7 separate regions of the Homo sapiens genome follow, and regions 2, 3, 4, 5, 6 and 7 are each linked to region 1. Evidence: promoter capture Hi-C in 16 types of primary human blood cells and fetal thymus (Javierre and others, 2016). All regions are on one chromosome and are shown on one strand. Each heading gives the region's core, a stretch centred on a gene start or on the middle of the fragment in contact. The rest is flanking DNA. Distances are from core to core; before and after follow the strand shown. Region 1 holds the start of FLJ13224 (a long non-coding RNA gene). Region 2 overlaps FGD4 (FYVE, RhoGEF and PH domain containing 4). Region 3 overlaps FGD4 (FYVE, RhoGEF and PH domain containing 4). Region 4 overlaps FGD4 (FYVE, RhoGEF and PH domain containing 4). Region 5 overlaps FGD4 (FYVE, RhoGEF and PH domain containing 4). Region 6 overlaps FGD4 (FYVE, RhoGEF and PH domain containing 4). Region 7 overlaps FGD4 (FYVE, RhoGEF and PH domain containing 4).

The links. The method cuts DNA at HindIII sites, captures the fragments that hold promoters and counts their contacts. A CHiCAGO score of 5 or more calls a contact.
Region 2: a contact is called between a fragment that was not itself captured here and the fragment with the promoter of FLJ13224 in region 1, in 1 of 17 cell types (neutrophils). The highest score is 5.5, in neutrophils.
Region 3: a contact is called between a fragment that was not itself captured here and the fragment with the promoter of FLJ13224 in region 1, in 1 of 17 cell types (monocytes). The highest score is 5.1, in monocytes.
Region 4: a contact is called between a fragment that was not itself captured here and the fragment with the promoter of FLJ13224 in region 1, in 1 of 17 cell types (monocytes). The highest score is 6.4, in monocytes.
Region 5: a contact is called between a fragment that was not itself captured here and the fragment with the promoter of FLJ13224 in region 1, in 1 of 17 cell types (monocytes). The highest score is 6.9, in monocytes.
Region 6: a contact is called between a fragment that was not itself captured here and the fragment with the promoter of FLJ13224 in region 1, in 1 of 17 cell types (M2 macrophages). The highest score is 5.1, in M2 macrophages.
Region 7: a contact is called between a fragment that was not itself captured here and the fragment with the promoter of FLJ13224 in region 1, in 1 of 17 cell types (monocytes). The highest score is 5.6, in monocytes.

What each region holds. Positions count from the first base shown.
Region 1 is chr12:31,323,022-31,325,721 of GRCh38, reverse strand. It overlaps FLJ13224 (a long non-coding RNA gene), which reads right to left and starts at 1,406. Exons shown (of 1, transcript NR_026806.1): 1 at 1-1,406. The region is part of intron 1 of SINHCAF (SIN3-HDAC complex associated factor); the gene reads left to right. RefSeq lists an enhancer at 1-483. The HindIII fragment of the contact is 3,270 bases long and covers 1-2,288 here.
Region 2 is chr12:32,545,648-32,548,410 of GRCh38, reverse strand. All of the region lies in intron 1 of FGD4 (FYVE, RhoGEF and PH domain containing 4), which reads right to left. Among named protein-coding and RNA genes, the nearest start is that of DNM1L, 130 kb to the left of the region's middle. The HindIII fragment of the contact is 4,271 bases long and covers 1-2,763 here.
Region 3 is chr12:32,519,560-32,522,259 of GRCh38, reverse strand. All of the region lies in intron 1 of FGD4 (FYVE, RhoGEF and PH domain containing 4), which reads right to left. Among named protein-coding and RNA genes, the nearest start is that of FGD4, 120 kb to the right of the region's middle. The HindIII fragment of the contact is 7,816 bases long and covers 1-2,700 here.
Region 4 is chr12:32,484,255-32,486,954 of GRCh38, reverse strand. All of the region lies in intron 1 of FGD4 (FYVE, RhoGEF and PH domain containing 4), which reads right to left. Among named protein-coding and RNA genes, the nearest start is that of FGD4, 86 kb to the right of the region's middle. The HindIII fragment of the contact is 5,006 bases long and covers 1-2,700 here.
Region 5 is chr12:32,587,522-32,590,383 of GRCh38, reverse strand. All of the region lies in intron 4 of FGD4 (FYVE, RhoGEF and PH domain containing 4), which reads right to left. Among named protein-coding and RNA genes, the nearest start is that of DNM1L, 90 kb to the left of the region's middle. The HindIII fragment of the contact is 1,833 bases long and covers 429-2,261 here.
Region 6 is chr12:32,643,050-32,645,868 of GRCh38, reverse strand. FGD4 (FYVE, RhoGEF and PH domain containing 4) reads right to left here. Exons shown (of 17, transcript NM_001370298.3): 17 at 1-2,819. Among named protein-coding and RNA genes, the nearest start is that of DNM1L, 35 kb to the left of the region's middle. The HindIII fragment of the contact is 2,915 bases long and covers 1-2,727 here.
Region 7 is chr12:32,447,766-32,450,743 of GRCh38, reverse strand. The region is part of intron 1 of FGD4 (FYVE, RhoGEF and PH domain containing 4); the gene reads right to left. Among named protein-coding and RNA genes, the nearest start is that of FGD4, 50 kb to the right of the region's middle. The HindIII fragment of the contact is 3,961 bases long and covers 1-2,978 here.

The DNA of each region.
Region 1 (2,700 bases), core at 157-2,656:
TGAGGGATCCACGTTGAAGGTGACAATGACTTTTCTCCGCCGCAGTGTTCTCTCGCGGAAAGGAGCCCGGCGGCCGAAAGGCCCGAGAGGAAAGCGACTCGTTGGCCACCGCGCAGCGGCCGGGGTCGGTGCGTCCGCGTGGGCGCGAGGCGCGGGCAGGGTCGGGCGCCGTTGTGAAACCTCGTGGTTTAGTTGACTGCAGCCCTCGGACTAGGGTGGACAATAAACGCCATTCGCTCGGAAACTAAGTTGCCATCCGCTTCCGAGCTGGCGGCCGAGGGTCTTTAAATCGGCCTTTGGGGGTCAGTGCTGGGCTCTGCCGGAGCGCACGCGGCGTGGCGTTGTTTGCTCAACTCCGGAGGGATGCGGATGCGACAATGAGAGCAACACGCGGTCGCTTAAAAACAGCCCGTCTTCCACTCGCCTGCCCTCTTCGGACCGCGCCCAAGAGCCTCTGGTGTCCGGGGTGCTTTCGGAGCCCGAAGTTTTGCTCCCGGTGCGTTCACCTGTAGCGTAGGTGTGGGCGACACCGCGAGGGCTTCCCGTTTATGGGCGGCCGTCCGCGCTGTAAGATGGCCAGGGAAGCCAACTTGGCTGGAGATGGAGGCGGCGGCGTTGTGTACGCCGCGGGAGTCAGTGAACTCCGCAGGGCACTGCTTTTTGTGCTCTACGTGACAGACCACGTGCTTCGGGCTGCGACCCTGGTCCTTGTCCGAATGTCCAGCCCCGCGTGAGCCGTGGGATGCGGCCGCCGTCGGGCAGGTCCGGCCGGCAGGACAATGTGGTTTGCTGATGATGGCGTCTTGCCAGTTTAAAAAGCAGAGTGAAAGTCGCCAACTCTCCGCCCGTGCGGGGCGGATACTCCGGGCGTTTCTCATCAAGGACACTGCAAAACTTTGATTAAATGGGCCTGCTCCCGAGGGGAGGGTCGGGGGGCCAGGCTCCGGACTCTTCGGGGCGCGGGGTCCGGACCCCTACCCAGGGTGATCGTCCAGTGTCCGGCCCCTGCGAAACGCTCCGACATCCCTGATGCTGCACGTAGGCAGCGCCCGGCTGGACAGAAAACAAAGGGCTGCATGTGCCCGTGCGGGCCCCCGGCGCTCGGGGCCGCCGCCTGGGCGTAGGGCCGTGCAGGTCGGAGGCCCTCGAAGTTCGGGCGAGTTTCGGGAGGGGCTTTTGTCCCTCAGCCCCCTCGTGGGGAAACTTTGGCGGCGCTACTTGTGCGAGGTGCCATGCTGGTGCGTAGGGAGGCGGCGTGCTTCCCCGCTCCGGGCGTGCGGGCGGGCGACCGAGGGAGGCGGCAGTGCCCGGCGCTTCAGCCCTGGCGTCGGGGGTTGCGACGGCCGAGGGTTCCGGGGAGCTTGGCCCGGACTGCTCGGCCGGTTTCTCGTGGCCCGGGAGCCTGTGTCTGGGAGGTCTGTGGGTTCGCCTTTGAAGTCGAACTGTTGCCATGTTTGAATTACGTCAGGGCAAAGCCATGAGGAGGAACAAGCCCCGGCAGCGCGGCGTGCGGGAGGCGCGGCCTGCGGGAGGCGCCGGGCCGGGCTGGCGCGGGGCCCGTTGTTCCGGCGCAGGTGAGGGAGGTGGCGGCGAGCGACGCGGTTCACCTCCCGCTGCCCTCGCCCTCGCCCCGGCGAGCGGCCCCCGCAGGAACTTTCCTCCCGACGCGAGATGTCTTATTTACCAACAAATCCACCAGGGAGCATTCTTACTTGCTGGCTCGGCGTCTCTCTCGGCAGTCACCGGAGTGCCCGAGGGGGAAGCACGATTTACGGAAGGTGGGGACCCGAGGGCCCTGGGAGGAGCGGGGAGGCATTTTACTGCTTTCAGAGAAACGGGTGAGGGCGGCGAGCACCTCCTCCCCAGCCGAGCTGTGGCCCGCAAGTCCAGGGGACCCAGCCCCGACGACGCCCGATAAACCACCGTGGGGAAGTTCCGGGGCTCCCTGTTGCCCTACTAAGGGAAGTGAGGACTGTGGGCGAATTGTGCGTGCGGCCAGTTTCTTTGTGTGTTTCTAGGGGGTGGGGGGAGCGGGGAAGGGCAAGGTTTGTTTTGGTGTAGGGGGAGTTGGTTTCTTGAGGTGGTAGGGCGGTGCAGTTTGTTCTGGTAACTATGACCCTAGTCAGTTTCTTTGTTTTTATTTTCTTCCTGTAACCTTCCATTACTTCAGGCACTCGGAAGATTAGGATTTACTCTTGAGTTAAACAGGGACCCTATCCGAGACAGTTTTACCCCAGCAATTCTTTCTCCCCCTTCTTAAGTTGTCCTAAGGAGGGTTAAGAAAAGCTTTTCTTTTTCTTTTAATAATTTAAAAATGAATTTGACCTTGTTATTCAGAGTACGCTGAAAGCACCTGTTTTTGAACTGGAATTTGCCAGACTTGAAAAGCCTTTTAAAATTTTATGTCGCAAAATTGAACACATTTAGTTGCCCAATCTAAAAGTCTGGGAGTTTGTTTCTGGTGGAGTTTCGGAGAAAACCCTCATGGCATTTAAAGTATTTATATAATGATTTTGGGAAGGGGGATCTTTTTTAGGCGAAAGGTATGCGTGACTCAGTGTTTGGTGGTTATTCAGTGCCTTAGGATGACCTTGAAGAAGCAAATGTTTAGGGAGTTGGGCCTTTTGGAAACATTGTAAGGAGGCTGGGGAGCTGGCTGGGGAGGAAGCTGCTCAGGAAGATGACACAGGGTAACGGCTA
Region 2 (2,763 bases), core at 111-2,610, 1.2 Mb before region 1:
ATAAGATCTCAGAATACAAAAGCAAATTTCTGGCCTGTAGTTCTAAGTAGCGAAAAGATATATTAGCCCTTTGCTTTGTTACCTCCTTGTGGGTTTAAACTCTAAGATCGGACAAAACACTTCATTTGATAAGAAACTTGACTTCACATTGAAGATCTATAATCCAACCACCCCCTCACACATGGATGCCGCAACAGGGTACTAGCGTATGCTCCCTGGAAAAAATCGTTTTCAAAATGGCCTTTTCTCAACTGATTTGTTCTCTGGACACCAAGTCAACTCTGTAAATGCAAGGTAACATATAGCTTCAGGAAGGGATACACCGATGCTGAGACATGTCCTTCAGTAGCATACTAAAAAATATTTATCCTGAATGTCACAAAAATATTAACAATCATAACTTGAGGCCGGGTGCAGTGGCTCATCCCTGTAATCCTAGCACTTTGGGAGGCCGAGGCAGGTGGATCACTTGAGGTCAGCAGTTTGAGACCAGTCTGGCCAACATGGTAAAACCCCGTCTCTACTAAAAAATAAAAATTAGCTGGGTGTGGTGGCGGGTACCTATAATCAGAGCTACTCAGGAGGCTGAAGCAGGAGAATCGCTTGAACCCGGGAGGCGGAGATTGTAGTGAGCAGAGACTGCACCACTGCACTCCAGCCTGGGCAACAAAGTGAGACTCCGTCTTAAAAAAGACTTGGGATTTCATAGTGCTTTAAAACTAATGCAAACTTGCTTTTAAATACTACTGCTATTCTTACTACTGTTAGTAATAATGGTAGAAATCATATCTAATAATATTGAGTGTTTATTGTGAGGCAAGCACACATTGTGCAAAGCACCTTATATGCATTATTTCATTTACTCCACTCAAGAATACTATGATGTAAAGTATAGCAGGCATTTTTATGTCCATTATACAGATGATTAAGAGGTGGTAAGTGGTTAGGCTGGGGTGTGTGTGTATGTGTGTGTATTTTTTGTTTTTACATGCAGACAGGCTGGAATATAGTGGCATGACCATATCTCACTGCAACCTCAAACTCCTGGGCTCAAGTGATCCTCTCACCTCAGCCTCCCAAGGAGGTGGGACTACAGGTGTATGCCACCACACTCAGCTATTTTTTTTTTCATTTTTGTAGAGACTGAGTCTCATCATCTTGCCCAGGCTGGTCTCAAACTCCTGAACTCTAGTGATCCTCCTGCCTTGGCCTCCCAAAGTGCTGGAATTACAGATCTGAGCCACCGTGCCCAGCCTTGCCTGATGTTGAATGTCATATCTACATGTGGTTTGTAAGCAATTTGTGGACACAGATTCTAGCTATTGATTCTTTGGCTTTCACTGAGCAGGTACACAAGTCACTGCAGCTATTTGCCCTAATTCTGTGCCTTTATTAGGCAAGATTATGCAGCTAGGAGCTTCAAAATACCCAGGGCATCAAACAAATCAATTTAAGAAATATAAGGTAAGAGGAACATGAGTCTTGATTTAGGATAACTCAATAGACATCAAGACAGAATTCCAGATTACCTTGCCTGTTTCCAGCTTTGAACCACTTCTCACCACCTCTTCAGCTCTGCACACTCCTGACCTTCTTCTTTTCCTCTTGTTCTGCTCCCCATTTCTGACCTACATTTGCTTCTCAAATCGAGGCTGATGAGGCCTCACCATTGTAGACTCTTCGACATTCTCTTTGGAAACCAGTGGGCACACTCTCATAGACTCACTTTATGCTAGTCAAGTCCTACTTCCCTCCATGCTCTATGGCTGCAGTTTCTGCTAGGCCTGACCCAAACCTCCTCAGGGAGAAGTCAGAAAAGTGCTCACAAGGCACTGTCACATAGACAGCACACCTCATTTCACCTTTGGCATCCCTAAAGAGTGAGACAGATACCTGCACATTATAGGTAAATAAAAGTAGGGTTGGTTAAAAGTGGCAAAGCCACGAGTCACAACAGGGCTTTTAATTCCAAGGTCACTGCTCTTTCCACCACAACTGAGGGCCCTGTTGTCAGGTCAATATGTGTTTTGCATTAGAAGTGGGTTCATGTCTGGGGTGGTGGCTCCTGCCTGTAATCCCAGCTACTTGGAAGGCTGAGGCGGGAGAATGGCTTCAGCCCAGGAGTTTGAGACCAGCCTAAGCAACATACTGAGACTCCATCTCTTTAAAATAATGAGAAGAAGAAAAGAAAAAGAGAAACAGGCTCATAATCTGGAGCTGTACTTCTAATATTTGGGTGGCTGTGGGAACCCATTAGCATTTGTTTAATTTTGCTAAAGAGTCTACTGGCCACACATAAGTACAACAAAGATCTTAGATCCAAATGAACTGAAATAAATATTGTTGTGAGAAACTAACAATATTCACAAAAATAAAGACAGTGTATCATAAAACAGATTTTAAGAAAAACTTTCAGATTTAAAATGAATTCTTAGAATCTGTTCCAGGAAATTAAAATAATTATGAATGCCCTAGAGCAAATTCAGATCTTTAATTCGCTTGAAGAATTCAGCAATTATACCCTGCTACAGACTTCAAGCATTTCCTCTCCAAAGCTGGAATATGTGCCAACTGTTTCCCCTACTGGAAGGGTTAGAAGCAACAGAAAAACGTTAAGAGCTGCATAGATATGAATTCAACAAGCACTCATCTAACACCTTGCAACAGAGGCCACTGTAACAGTACCAGGAAGTAAGGCACCACGTGGGACCAGTAACATCTTCAGCCTACTCTTAAGGAGCCAACTTTCCAATGGGAAGATTA
Region 3 (2,700 bases), core at 62-2,561, 1.2 Mb before region 1:
CCACAACAGATAATGATAATCTTACACATGCAGTTTCTTTTTTAATACAATCTCAGAAGTATATTACAGTAATAATATTCCAAAGAAAAAAGAATATTAGTAGATGCAAATTTAGTCAGCTTTTAAATATCTTTGTAAGTTACTGAATTTGTGGTAGGAAATAAGGTCAAAGATAAAAAGGGAACTAATTTTTTAAAAAACAGCTCATTTCCATCATATGCACGTTTAAATGGGTACTAAATAAATTATAAATTTATTTGCTTGGAATTTTCTAATTATTATTTTGGCAATCTATATATTGTCAACTTTAGTAATCATGTTGAAACAAACAGGTCTTCGGTACTATGCTAAGGATTATAAAATACCTATATAGCCTTTAAGACACAACAGTTCATCAGTAGTGGAACTTAAATAATCTCGTATTAGTAAACAGTTCACTGTTCATGGAGTATGGCTTATCTTCATCCTCTGCACAGGATAGCAGAGGCAAATGTTATTTGCCACAAATGGGTAAGGATTCGAGTTTAAAACAGCAGAAATTAGAGTAACCTATGGCAAACTAGAAAACAATATTTTTTAAAGTAAATGCTAAAACTCAAAAACATTTAAAATCCCTTCTAAAGATGTTGTATTTGTTTATTTACAAAGAATTACTGAGCCCCATATGGGACTCAATATAGTATACAGGACACATTGTTAGGGACTTGGGAATGTTTTTTATAAAGTCCTGCCCATCAGTTCAGCCACACCAGCTTTTTCAGTTCCTGTGACGTTAAGGTCTCTACATATGACTAAGTCTAATTATTCCCTGTGGGTTGTTTCCTTTGAACATTTCTTCACAAACGTAATTAAATATTCATGCAATGTCCTTTTTTTTTTTTTTTTTTGAGACGGAGTCTCGCCGTCGCCAGGCTGGAGTGCAGTGGTGCGATCTTGGCTCACTGTAACCTCCGATTCCCTGGTTCAAGCAATTCTCCTGCCTCAGCCTCCCGAGTAGCTGGAATTAGAGGCATGCCAGCTAATTTTTGTATTTTTAGTAGAGACAGGGTTTTGCCACGTTGGCCAGGATGGTCTCGATCTCCTGACCTCGTGATCCACCCGCCTCGGACTCCCAAAGTGCTGGGATTACAGGTGTGAACCACCGCGCCCAGCCTGCAATGTCCTTTTTTCTAGAGGACAGGGACCCTGTCTGTCCTGTTCATTATTATGGCTCCCATGCACATTGTTTTCAAACACTTTATACAGTCTCATTAAATAGTTCCTTCTCGAGGAACCAAAGGGAGAGCAAACAAGTAAAATAGTAATTGACAAGTTTGGCTGAGGCTCTGTGACTGCTGGAGGTACAGAGCGGAGGGTAAGAGAAGGCTTTCTAGAATACTTTATCTCTAAACTTCTTGAGGGCACATCCCTATCAGAATAAATCCTGGGCATGCATCCCCTAGTATGCATATTCGCACACAATGTAGGTAAGAGTTAGATACAAGCATTCCTGTATTAAGATACACACTTTAAAACACAAAAATAGGCCAGGCGCGGTGGCTCATGCCTGTAATCCCAGCACTTTGGGAGGCCGAGGCGGGTGGATCACGAGGTCAGGAGATCGAGACCATCCTGGCTAACACGGTGAAACCCTATCTCTACTAAAAATACAAAAAAATTAGCCAGGCGTGGTGGTGGGCACCTGTCATCCCAGCTACTCAGGAGGCTGAGGGAGGAGAATGGCGTGAAACCGGGAAGCAGAGCTTGCAGTGAGCCAAGATTGCACCACTGCACTCCAGCCTGGGCGACAGAGCGAGACTCCATCTCTAAAAAAAAAAAACAAAAAACAAAAAAACCCACAATAGAACTTAAAATAGGGCAAGGTAGAGGTAAAAATACTATTGTTAAGAGAACAATGTGACTGAATCTGCTTGTTTTTAAAAAATCTTTTAAGGTAAATGCTAAAACTCAAAAACATTTAAAATCTCTTTAAAGCTCTTGTATTCGTTTATTTAAAAAGAAATTGTAAAATATTTCACAATACAGCAATTTGGAAGAGTAAATCTATCTCAGTTTACTTCCATACTTAGTTTCAATGACTGCCATGAAGAGAGATTCATCGTCCTAAAGGGAAGAAGTCTATCACTGGATGCACTTACTAAGTCACAATACCTATTTTTAAATACCATCTACCAGTTATACAAAGGTTTTTCTCAAAATTATTCTGGCAAATTTCCATCTATAGTAATATCTCAGAAGATATTACATTATTTTTCAAAACTTACTCTAAAACATACTAAAACTATTCAAAGATTTTTTATTTTATTTTATTTTGAGATGGAGTCTTGCTCTGTCACCCAGACTGGAGTGCAGTGGCATGATCTCAGCTCACTGTAGCCTCTGCCTCCTGGGTTCAAGTGATTCTCCTGCTTCAGCCTCCCAAGTAGATGGGACTACAAGTGCACACCACCACGCCCAGCTACTTTTTGTATTTTTTTCTTTTTTAGTAGAAACGGGGTTTCACCATCTTGGCTAGGCTGGTCTCGAACTCCTGACCTCAAGTGATCTGCCTGCCTTGGCCTCCCAAAGTGCTCGGATTACAAGAGTGAGCCACCGTGCCCAGCTTTATTTTTTTATTTTATTTTATTTTTAAGCAGAGGCAAGGTCTTGCTGTGTTGCCCAGGCTGGTCTCAAACTCCTGGCCTCAAGTGATCCTCCTGA
Region 4 (2,700 bases), core at 109-2,608, 1.2 Mb before region 1:
TCACAAAACAATAGCTACAAAGAGGAAAAACACCTCAAAATGTTACAGTAGCTTATACTTGGATGTTTATTTTTTTCTCCTTCCTACTGAACAAAAATATTGGTTTAAAATTTAAAATGTTTCTCTGAACAAAAACATCAACCTAAAATGATTTTTCAGTTAAATATAAAAGACTACAAGATCACTTAAGCCACAATGATAGAAGTACCTAGTCAAGTCAACTATACTTCAGATCCCAATAAATCAGATAATGTTATTTCAAGAAATCCTTAAACCTGAGAATTACCAATGTACCTTGCTCATGTTTTAGAAGTAGGGGGAATTTTTATCCCCAAATAATTGATGACCAAGAAAATATTAGGTGCACAAATAAGTTTTAAGAAACTGGCTAAAGTGTAAATCTTAAATATTAGAAATAGAAAGAAGACAAGTGAAAAAAGTAGAAGGAAAGAGGTTATAATAAAAAAGACTGAGATGACAAGGGTCAACAGTGGTTGCACTTACTCACTTCCACTACTCTCAGGAAACACTCTGTGCTATGAACTCACAGGGAGAAATGCCATTCCCTCAAGTAATTGTTCCTGGATCATGAAGATAAGAAAAAGCACACCTTTGTGCTAAAACCACAGCACTGAACTACTCTAAAGAAAATCCACGATAATTTTTCCATCGTGGTACAAATTATTATCACTTAACAGTAAACAAAGAGAAATACCAGTGACCTCATCTATTGTATACTTTGCATAGTGAAAAAATCCAAATGTTTTAACCTGAGATATTTCAGAAATGGCAATTGCAAAACAATACTCACAGCCCCCCATAAAAGATTCTTTTCATAACATCCAGCAATCTTCTGATTAACCTATTTCCTGCTTCTGGAGCAAGGATTTGGATCCATAATTTGTTGGTAGAAACTATAGGCATTCTGTATTTAGACACTAGACACATACACATCTAGTGTTCAACATGATAAAGAACTAACTAATGGGAAGTACAGAGTTCTGTTTCATAAGTCTTCTTCTGGCAGTGATGCAGGCTCAAGGAACTACGCAAGCAACGCATTTCAAAATTCCACGAAGGTGTTTCAAAATGTACTGAGAGAGCTCTAGAATACCGGGGGTGGACTAGGAAGTATGATGCCAAATACATGTAACTTTATTACATTTATGGCATTTAGGCTTATAACAAACTTCCCTTTAAAAATAGGTCTTGGTCAGGCGCAGTGGCTCACACTTGTAATCCCAGCACTCTGGGAGGCCTAGGCGGGTGGGTCACGAGGTCAAGAAATCGAGACCATCCTGGCTAACATGGTGAAACCTCGTCTCTACTGAAAATACAAAAAAAAAATTAGCCAGGCGTGGTGGCAGGCGCCTGTAGTCCCAGCTGCTCGGGAGGCTGAGGCAAGAGAATAGCGTGAACCTGGGAGGCGGAGCTTGCAGTGAGCCCAGATCCCGCCACTGCACTCCAGCCTGGGCAACAGGGCGAGTCTCTGTCTCAAAAAAAAAAAAAAAAAAAAAATTGGTCTTAAAAGATCTGAGGATTCTTTTTGACAGACATCAGAAAATTGTAAGAAATACTGCAAGCAATGCTGAATAGTGAAACTGTGTATAAGCTCTCCATATTCCCAAAAGCAAAAAAGGGCCTTCCATTTTTTTCCAGGAATGGTTATGCGGGTTACCTAGCAATCCCAAGTAATTTCTATATAAAAACAAGTCAGGTTTTTAAAAGAGGAAGGCACTGATTGATAGGCAAATTTCTCATCCTTGTTATGCCTATAAAGTAAAATTATGGATTAAAATGAATGTTTTATGTTTGAGGCCAGAAATTAGAGACCAACCTAGGCAACATGGTGAGACCCCATCTCTACAAAAATAAATTTTAAAAAATTAGCTGGGTGTTATGGCATGTGCCTGTCATCCCAGCTACTCAACAGGCTGAGGCAGGAGGATCACTTGAGCATAGAAGGTTGACGTTACATAGTGAGCTACTATCATACCACCATACCTCAGTCTGGGCGACAGAGTGAGGCGCCATTTCTTAAAAAATAAGATGGGATTTTTTATTTTTATTTTGTTTTTTTTCTGAGACAGAGTATCCCTCTGTCACCCTGGCTGGAGTGTAGTGGTGTGATCTTGGCTCACTGCAACCTCTGCCTCCCAGGTTCAAGCTATTCTCCTGCCTCAGCCTCCCAAGTAGCTTGGATTACAGGTGCCCACCAGCACGTCTGGCTAATTTTTGTATTTTTAGTAGAGGTGGGGTTTCACCATGTTGGCCAGGCTGGTCTTGAACTCCTGACCTCAGGTAATCCACCCACCTCGGCCTCCGAAAATGCTGGGATTACAGGCATGAGTGACTGCACCCAGCCTAAAAAGGGGTATTTTAGTTAATTTATCACATAACAGATGTTTTAAAACACCTAAACATTAATCATGATGTAAATTCAACATTTACATAACACAAATGTCCCTTTTCATGTGATAGTCAGATGTTGTAGTCAGAATCAAACCATAATACCTAGACTCAGCTCAACTTTGTAACATCACTTCTTAAAATTATTATGTTTCTATGTTATATGGAATAGCAAACTAAAAATTGTATGTTACCTTAAAGCACTTTGAGAGTAGGTGAGGACATTTTGATGGGTATAGTAAAACACACACCTGATGCAGCTTATGAACCAACAAGTGGAAGCATGAAGAA
Region 5 (2,862 bases), core at 96-2,595, 1.3 Mb before region 1:
AAGAGAGAGAGAGAGAGAACACCCACTTATGATATGCATATATCATTCCTTGCTTTTTTTTTTTTTTTTTTTTTAGATGAAGTCTCACTCTTGTCCCCCAGGCTGGAGTGCGATGGCGCGATCTCGGCTCACTGCAAACTCTGCCTCTCGGGTTCAAGTGATTCTCCTGCCTCAGCACCCACTGAGTAGCTGGGATTATAGGCGCCTGCCACCATACCCAGCTAATTTTTGTATTTTTAGTAGAGACGAGGTTTCACCATGTTGGCCAGGCTGGTCTAGAACTCCTGACCTCAGGTGATCCACCTGTCTCGGCCTCCCAAAGTGCTGGGATTTCAGGCATAAGCCACCGCGCCCGGCATTCCTTGCTTTATAATATAGTGTCATAAGCATCAACAGGCTGTCAGCTCGGCATGATCCTTCAAGAAGCTTCAAGAAGTAGTCCAGGCCTACTTGTGACTTACCACCAATATTTTCCCAAACTTAGGTCTTCCACACTATCCAATTCAAAACTTGAAATAAGAGGGGAGAACAATGAGTGAGAGTTAATGGCACAATCTCAGCTCACTGCAACCTCTGCCTCCTGGGTTCAAGGAGAGTTAAAAGTGAGAGCTTTTAATCTGAAGGTTTCAATTACGTTCTTTCGTGACATGGGGAGGAGGGGGAAACAGAGGTTGCACAAAGAAAAAAAGTTTGGTTACTTGCACAAGATCAGACAGGAAGTAAGTGGTGGTGAAGAGAGAACAACTTTGGTCTTCTTATAATCTATGTAGTGTAAGTTACACTAAAGAGTCCTTTGAGTTTTATAGAAATTAAAGAACAGGCACCAAGAAAAACTGAATATGTATACACATTAAATAACTGAATTAACCTGTCTAAAGACTTAGTCATCAAAGTATCTCAGTCATTTATAAACGCTTTATGTTAATTCTGTTAAGTCAGAACCTTGTATACACTAATGAGAGTACATCATGTGGTAATAACCAACAGTCCTCAGGCAGGAGAAACAAAATACAGGAACCCTAAGTTAAAAAAGAGGTGGTATGCAAACTTCTCTGTGTATCCTACAGTGGGAGAACCGAAAGAGAGGTGCTGGTATTAACCTGGCAGAATGTGTTGAAATTTGGATCTATTAAATGACATATTAGGCTTTGAGTCTATTGATCTTGATTCACAAGTGAGGAAACAGGATGTTTAATTAATAAACACATAGCTTTTATATGCCAAGGCACTGTTCTAAAGTACTTTACAACTAGTACATGATCTATACCTCATAATGTTACAAGGTAGATATGTTATCTCCATTTTACAGATGAGGAAACTGAGGCACAGGGAGGTTGAAGTAATCTGCTCAAGGTCACAGAGCTAGTAAGTAGCTGAGTGGGATTCAAATCTAGAGGACCTGGCTCTTGAGTCTGTGTTCCTGACCACTAGGTTAGGTATCTGGCTTTTTAATTTGTTTTTAACCCCATATAAAGCAAGATTTTAGCTTTCCATTTCTCTCACACTCAACTAAACTGGGTCTTTCTACACGCTGTGACCTCTAAGCACCTGATCTTTCCCAATTCTCCTGGTTCAACTCAACGTTCTGTTAAACCCCATCCTTTGTTCTCTTGGCACTGCTGACTTGCTGATCCTGGCTAATTCCCACTCCAAGTTTGCTTTTTCTCTTTCTTGAATTCCAGGCCACTCAGCAATGCTGGGAAGACTTCTGATTGGCTCTATAGTCTTTGCCCGATGCTCTCAGAATCATGGTCACTGTTGCCACAACAGCACCTTCTCCAAGCTCCAAGTCTTGCACCTGGAGGACTTCTTGCTGGTCTTGGCAGAGGACTGCCCAAATCGACACTTCAATCACCAAGCCTGCAAGCTACCTCCGTGCTGTGGTCCCTCAGTCCGTCCTAGATTCTCCATGACTTCTCCGTTTCTGCTAACAACAGTGAATTCACACTAATAGCCATGATGTAAACCTTAGCTTTATCAGTGAGGCCTTTTCCCTTTACTTCAGGATATCTTGAGTAATGGTCATTTGTTGTCTTAACTCTCCATCTCAACTGTAAGTTTCTTCTTTGTATTTACTGCGGTGCCTTGCCCATAGCCTATGTGCAATATACATTTGCTCAACTTTGTTCAATTACTCAAGTTCACCAAGTTATATACTAGTATACAGCTAGTTAGCTATCAAGGCCTACTAAAGGCTAGGTCTCCAAGTTAACTCCTAGTTCCATATTCTAAATGCTGACCATGCTTTTTTCCTTAAAGCTTTCCAATATGCCTGCACCCCTACCCCATTCCCCTCCATCCCTGTGGTTCCAAAACACTGTTCTCTCTTCTTTCTCCTCTTGGACAATTTATTAAACATCCTTTTCTATTGTTTGTGCTTCATGGCTCAACTCTTGGCCCATTTCCTGTTCCTACACATTCTGCTTTGGCAATGTTAATCACACCCTCATGCACCATCCTCTTAACATTCTTACCCTCTTTCCTGGGCTCTGGATCCACAGTTCCACTTGCTTAATTAATATCTCCAAATGGATGTTTTGCAGGAACCATAAACTTAGTATAAGAGTACAAAACTAACCTAATTAGCAACTCTACTTCCTTCTCTCAAACCCACACCATTACTTTCCTTCCTGTCATCTCAATGATTTCAACATGTCAGGAAGCCATGGCCTGGAGAGTTTGTTAAAGTGATGTGTCTGGCCAGGCACAGTGGCTCACACCTGTCAGCACTTTGGGAGGCTGAGGCGGGTGGATCACTTGAGCTCAGGAGTTCAAGACCAGCCTGGGCAACATGGTGAAAACCTATCTCTACAAAAAATACAAAAATTAGCCAGGCGTGATGGTGCATGCCTGTAGTCCCAG
Region 6 (2,819 bases), core at 21-2,520, 1.3 Mb before region 1:
TGTATACTTTCACACTTGAGTCAACTGTAAAATTCCAAAAACATACATTCTCAAACTTATCAGTCAAGAATTCAAAAGAAAAATCCAGATACGCTTATTTTATTTTTTGAGTCGAAGTCTTGCTCTGTCACCCAGGCCGGAGTGCAGTGGTGCAATCTCGGCTCACTGCAACCTCTGTCTCCCGGGTTCAAGCAATTCTCCTGCCTCAACCTCCCGAGTAGCTGGGATTACAGGCATGTGCCACCACACCTGGCTAATTTTTGTAGAGACAGGGTTTTGCCATGTTGGCCAGGCTGGTCTCGAACTCCTCGGCCTCCCAAAGTGCTGGGATTACAGGCATGGGCTACCGTGCCTGGCCCAGATACACTTATTTTGTTTTATTTTTATTTAGTAGAGACAGGGTTTCACCATGTTGGCCAGGCTGGTCTCAAACTCCTGACCTGAAGTGATCTGCCCACCTCGGCCTCCCAAGGGCTGGGATTACAGGCATGAGCCACTATGCCCGGCCTATGCTTATTTTAAAATGTCAATTGTCACTCACAAAATGAAATGCTAGTTTGGTTAAAAAAAAAAAAGTCTTATATACAGACAGACATGACTGTTTTGCTAATGAAGAGAACCCCCCACAAGTGATACATTCCAATATCCATATACTGTGTAATATATAATGTGATTCTCTTATAATGGTCCCCACAGACTAGTTTCTTCCCAAACCTATATGTCACTATGTATTTGGTATTTATTTATTAAAGTATGATATGAGATTTCTTGATTTACGTTTTCCACTAAAACTACCACAATGAATTTTGGGAAAAGGGGTTGACCATCATATAACTCCCGGTGACCCCAACAAGTTAAAACTATCTTGTAGAAGCCATGTGCTATTTCATGTCAAAATACAGGAAAAGATACTGCATTCTGCCAAATGCTCAGTCCAGAAAGTAGAAGACCATGATTGACTTCAGATTTTTTTTTTTTTTGCCTCAGTAAACAGTACAGAAAATGATCTGAGAATGAAATTATTTTTTAAAAGCCCAAAGGAGAAAAAGAATAACAAGATATCATAGTCTAGCATTTACAGGCCAAGGTCAAAAACCTGGGTGCAATGGATCCCATCAGCATGTAATTACATAGATTTTATATCCCTTCTGCAGTTAAAATATTTCATCTTATCTTAAAACACATTGCTGTGGTCTGGAGACCAGCAGTCTCTCCCCCACATCTCTCTTCATTCTTGCTTGTTTCAGTTTCTTATCTTATTCCTCTCTGCCCTTTCTGTAAAGAAAGCAAAGTTATCTTCTCATGACTACGTGATTAAGGGGTATATATAAGGATGAATTATACATAAAGATCCATGTAAATAATTTATGTTAAAATATTTAAGTTAAACAATTTCGATAGAAAAAGTTCATTTCTATGGAAAGACAGAATTGCAAATCAACAGTGTTTTTACATATATACATACATGTATAAATTCACAGAAAGGGTTTTTTAAGTTGACCTAGTGGTCTTTATGTATCATAGTCATTTTCTAAAGCTGAGAATCTATAGTAGATAATAGTATGCAAATAACAAGAAGTTTGATTCTAATAAAATTGGTAAGAATGAAGAAGCAACATGATCCACTACAGATGTCAATACAGTCTGAAGAATAGGAACTGGTTGGCCACAGTTCATATACTAATACATTCTTGGAGAATACAAAATTTAAGAATGAAAACATTAAGACATTCTTGACTTTTGAGTTAATTTTAGCTTATAAATATCATGTGCTTAATCTTAGACCCACTAACACAAATATCATATGATATAGGAAATCTTCATTAATCTATTCTGCATTATAGCAAAGATACCTATAAAACCCAAGACGCTTGTTCCCTAGAAGTTTACTTGCTCCGGTTGGTGCTTGCTACTCAGGTTGTATCTAGTCCAGAAAGATCATCAGAAATTTATCACAGACAATATGCTCAGATTAAGAACTTAAGGCTTTGAATATAACCAGAAAACAAATAAAAGCAACCACCCTGTTTCCAAAAAGTAAGGACAAGGAAAAGTAAAACAGAATTGTGAACTCAAAAGTATTTTTGACAAAAGTTTTTAGAAGGCATCAAAGAATCTTTAACAACCCTGCAGTACCACAAACTTTATCGTTTTCTTTATATATTTATAACTAGAACAAGTGTTCTTAAAAAAAAAAAATCCAAACGTGTGCGTATATATATATGGGGAAAGGGTACATTTAAAAGGTTAGTTTCTGTAAAAAGTTTAATAATTTTTAAAAAAATTGGGGTAAGTTAAGTCACCTAGTGAAGATAAGTACACAAACCTGATGTCAAATTAAACTTCAGGGAAAACAAAATGTGCTTTTTCTATCCATTTTCTTTGTTAAAGTAAAAATGTTCTTGATAGTTATTTAAAATCCAAGGAATGATGCCCCTTCCCATTTCCCTTCCTTATACTCTGCAATTCGAATTACCGTATCACATCTAGAAAGTTAATAATTATCTATATTCTTGTGGGAAGGGGCCTTCATATTAAATTTTCAGTATAAAACCATACCCTAAAGAGTTTTATTGCTTGCATACATGATGACACTGTGATGCCATTATTACAAAAGTGGCTGGTGTTTTTTATTGAGCCCCACTTAAAACCAAGATAAAAGTCTGCACTATATTTCATACTTAACACGCCAAATGGTAGGCTTTCAGCAAAAGCAAAATTTAAGCTTAAAATATTGAAATGTTTTATAATGAATAGAAATTTTGTCAAGGAAGTACTTTTTAAAGTTTGGAGGAAGGGCACTTTAAAGAAAAGATGAC
Region 7 (2,978 bases), core at 388-2,887, 1.1 Mb before region 1:
TAGAGAGAGAGACAACATGTAAATGTGTACGTGTGTATGAATATATTCCCTACCTTTGTTCACCAAGAAAGCCTGAAAGGAGAAACAACCTTTGATCATACTTAGCAGACAGATCTTGGTTTGTATACACCCTTTTCCACTAAGAAACCAGGGCTCTTGGAGAAATCGCTGATTCTAGTAACAGGGTAGGGAAGAACAAGATGAGCCTAGAACATCTTGTGTCAGCTAGACATGCTCAAAGAATTATAAGAACTTGTCAAAAGAGAACAGAAGCCAGCTTGAAAGGGAAGTAAAAGATTATAATTTATTAGGAAATGGTGACTACACACTGATATAAATGAATAAACTTAAAGTGTGATAAAAAAAATAGGTGGCCTGGCATGGTGGCTCATACCTGTAATCCCAGCACTTTGGAAGGCTAAGGCAGGAGGATCTCCTAAATCCGAGAGTTCAAGACCAGCCTGGGCAACATGGCAAGACACTGTCTCCACAAAAATTTAAAAAATAAAAATAGGCCAGGTGCAGTGGCTCATGCCTGTAATCCCAGCAGTTTGGGAGGCTGAGGCAGGCAGATCACGAGGTCAGGAGATCGAGACCAGCCTGGCCAATATGGTGAAACCCCGTCACTACTAAAAATACAAAAATTAGCCAGGCATGGTAGCACGTGCCTGTAATCCCAGCTACTTGGGAGGCTGAGGCAAAAGAATCGCTTGAACCAGGGAGACGGAGGTTGCAGTGAGCTGAGATCGCACCATTGCACTCCAGCCTGGGTGACGGAGCAAGACTCCATCTCAAAAAAATAAAATAAATAAAATAAAAAAAAATAAATAAAAATAAATTAGCTGGGCATAGTGGTACATGCCTGTGGAACCAGCTACTTGGGAGACTAAAGTGAGAAGATCCCTTGAGCCCGGGAGGTCAAGGCAGGAAGTAAGGTGTGATTGCACCACTGCACTTTAGGCTGGGCAACAGAGCCAGACCCTGTCTCAAAAGAAAAGAAAAGAAATGAAACAGTTACATAGTCTTAAAGTTACTTCCCCACAAAATATTACAAAGAAGAAAAGAAATTTCACACTGGAGAAGCCAGGCAGACACCACCTTAATCAAGTGATCAAAGTAACAGCATCAATAATGGGACAAACAGAAATCATAAGTCACCTGATAAGATGCAATTAGAACACAGCATCAGTTCTATGACAGTCCCATCAAAGATGTCTAACCTGAATTCAATCACAAGGAAACCTCAGATAAACCCAAGTTTAAGGACATTCTACAAAACATTTGGCCTTTCACCTCTGGGTCATAAAAGTCAAGGAAAGACTAAGGATCTGTCCCAGGCTATAGGAACCTAAATAGACAGGATACTAAAAGCAATGGGTAATCCTGAAATTGATCCTTTTGCCATGAAGGGCATTATTGGTGCAACTGGTGAAACTTTAAATGGGATCTGGGAATTACATGGTAATAATGGATCAATGTTAACTTCCTGGTTTTGATAGCTATATTACAGCTATGTAGGTGCATGTCCTTGTTTGTTAAGACAAAAAAACAAAGGCACTAAATATACAGAAATGATGGGGCAGTGGGTAACTTACTATTAAATCAATTAGGAAAAAAAAATTTCTGTATATTTGAGATAGTTTTTGAAATTAAAAAATAATATATAGGAACCACATCTCGTGTAATTACCTGACTTTGATATCTCAGTTTCTCAGTCTATAAATGTTAATACTGTCTATCTCTCCAAGAGCATTATGAAGATGATTAAGTTACATAAAAATACAACATTTAGTTCACTTAGTGGAACGAAGGTTTTATTTATTATTTAATGTATTCATGTTCTAACCACACTTTGGAAACAGTCTAATCTGTCTCAGGAGCTGTCTCATGGTTTCTGGTTTTCCCCAGTTTTACCTTGCACTCCCTCCCACACATCCTCTCCTATACTGCAGCCTACAGGAAGTGATGAGGCTGCTCCTGTGTTACCGGACTGCTTCCCTTCTATCTTCTTTCCTTCCCCCTGCTAAACACACATTCCTACCTCAAGTCCAAGCTCAATCACCCCTTTTTCTTTTTTTTTTTTTTGCGATGGAGTTTCATTATTTGTTGCCCAGGCTGGAGTGCCGTGGCGCGATCTCAGCTCACTGCAACCTCTGCTTCCTGGGTTCAAGCAATTCTCCTGCCTTAGCCTCCCAAGTAGCTGGGATTACAGGCATGTGCCACCGCACCTGGCTAATTTTGTATTTTTAGTAGACACAGGGTTTCACCATGTTGGTCAGGCTGCTCTCGAACTCCTGACCTCAGGTGATCCACTCGCCTCAGCCTCCCAAAGTGCTAGGATTACAGGGGTGAGCTACCCGCGCCCAGCCAAGCACCCCTTTTTCTATGAGTCCATATGACTCTGCTCCATTTGCTCAGACAAAAATGATGGCTCCCTTCCCTTCTTTGTACTCCCACTGTACTTTCTACATCTATCCATCCTAATACCTCTAACACCATATTGCACTGTGATCTGCTTCCAGTCATTTTCCCTCTAAGATCATGGCTTACTTGCTGGCATGAACTCAAGCTCATCTTATGAATCAATCAAAGTGAATGAATGAGCAAGTGAGGGCATCCAAGAGGCCATGGTTAACATCTGCAGCATCTGAAGACTTGGGGACAGATCAGACATTCAAATCTATTCTTGCTGAACAGTTCGTCTTGTACCAATGTTCTTTCCTTCTGTAATGGGTAAAGGTTTTAGGGTTTGTTCCTTCCCCAACACAGACACAAAAACAAACAGTGAAAATATACACCTTCTGCCTCTAATAATGACCACAGAAAAAATAGGTGTACTTCTCTCTTACATATATTTCAACCAACAAATATTTGAGTGCCTGCTATGTGTGAAGCACTGTAGTAGATGCTAAGGACTCAAGTGAACAAATCAGACACGGTGTACTGAAGGGAGGGACAGCATTTTTGTTTGTATGTTT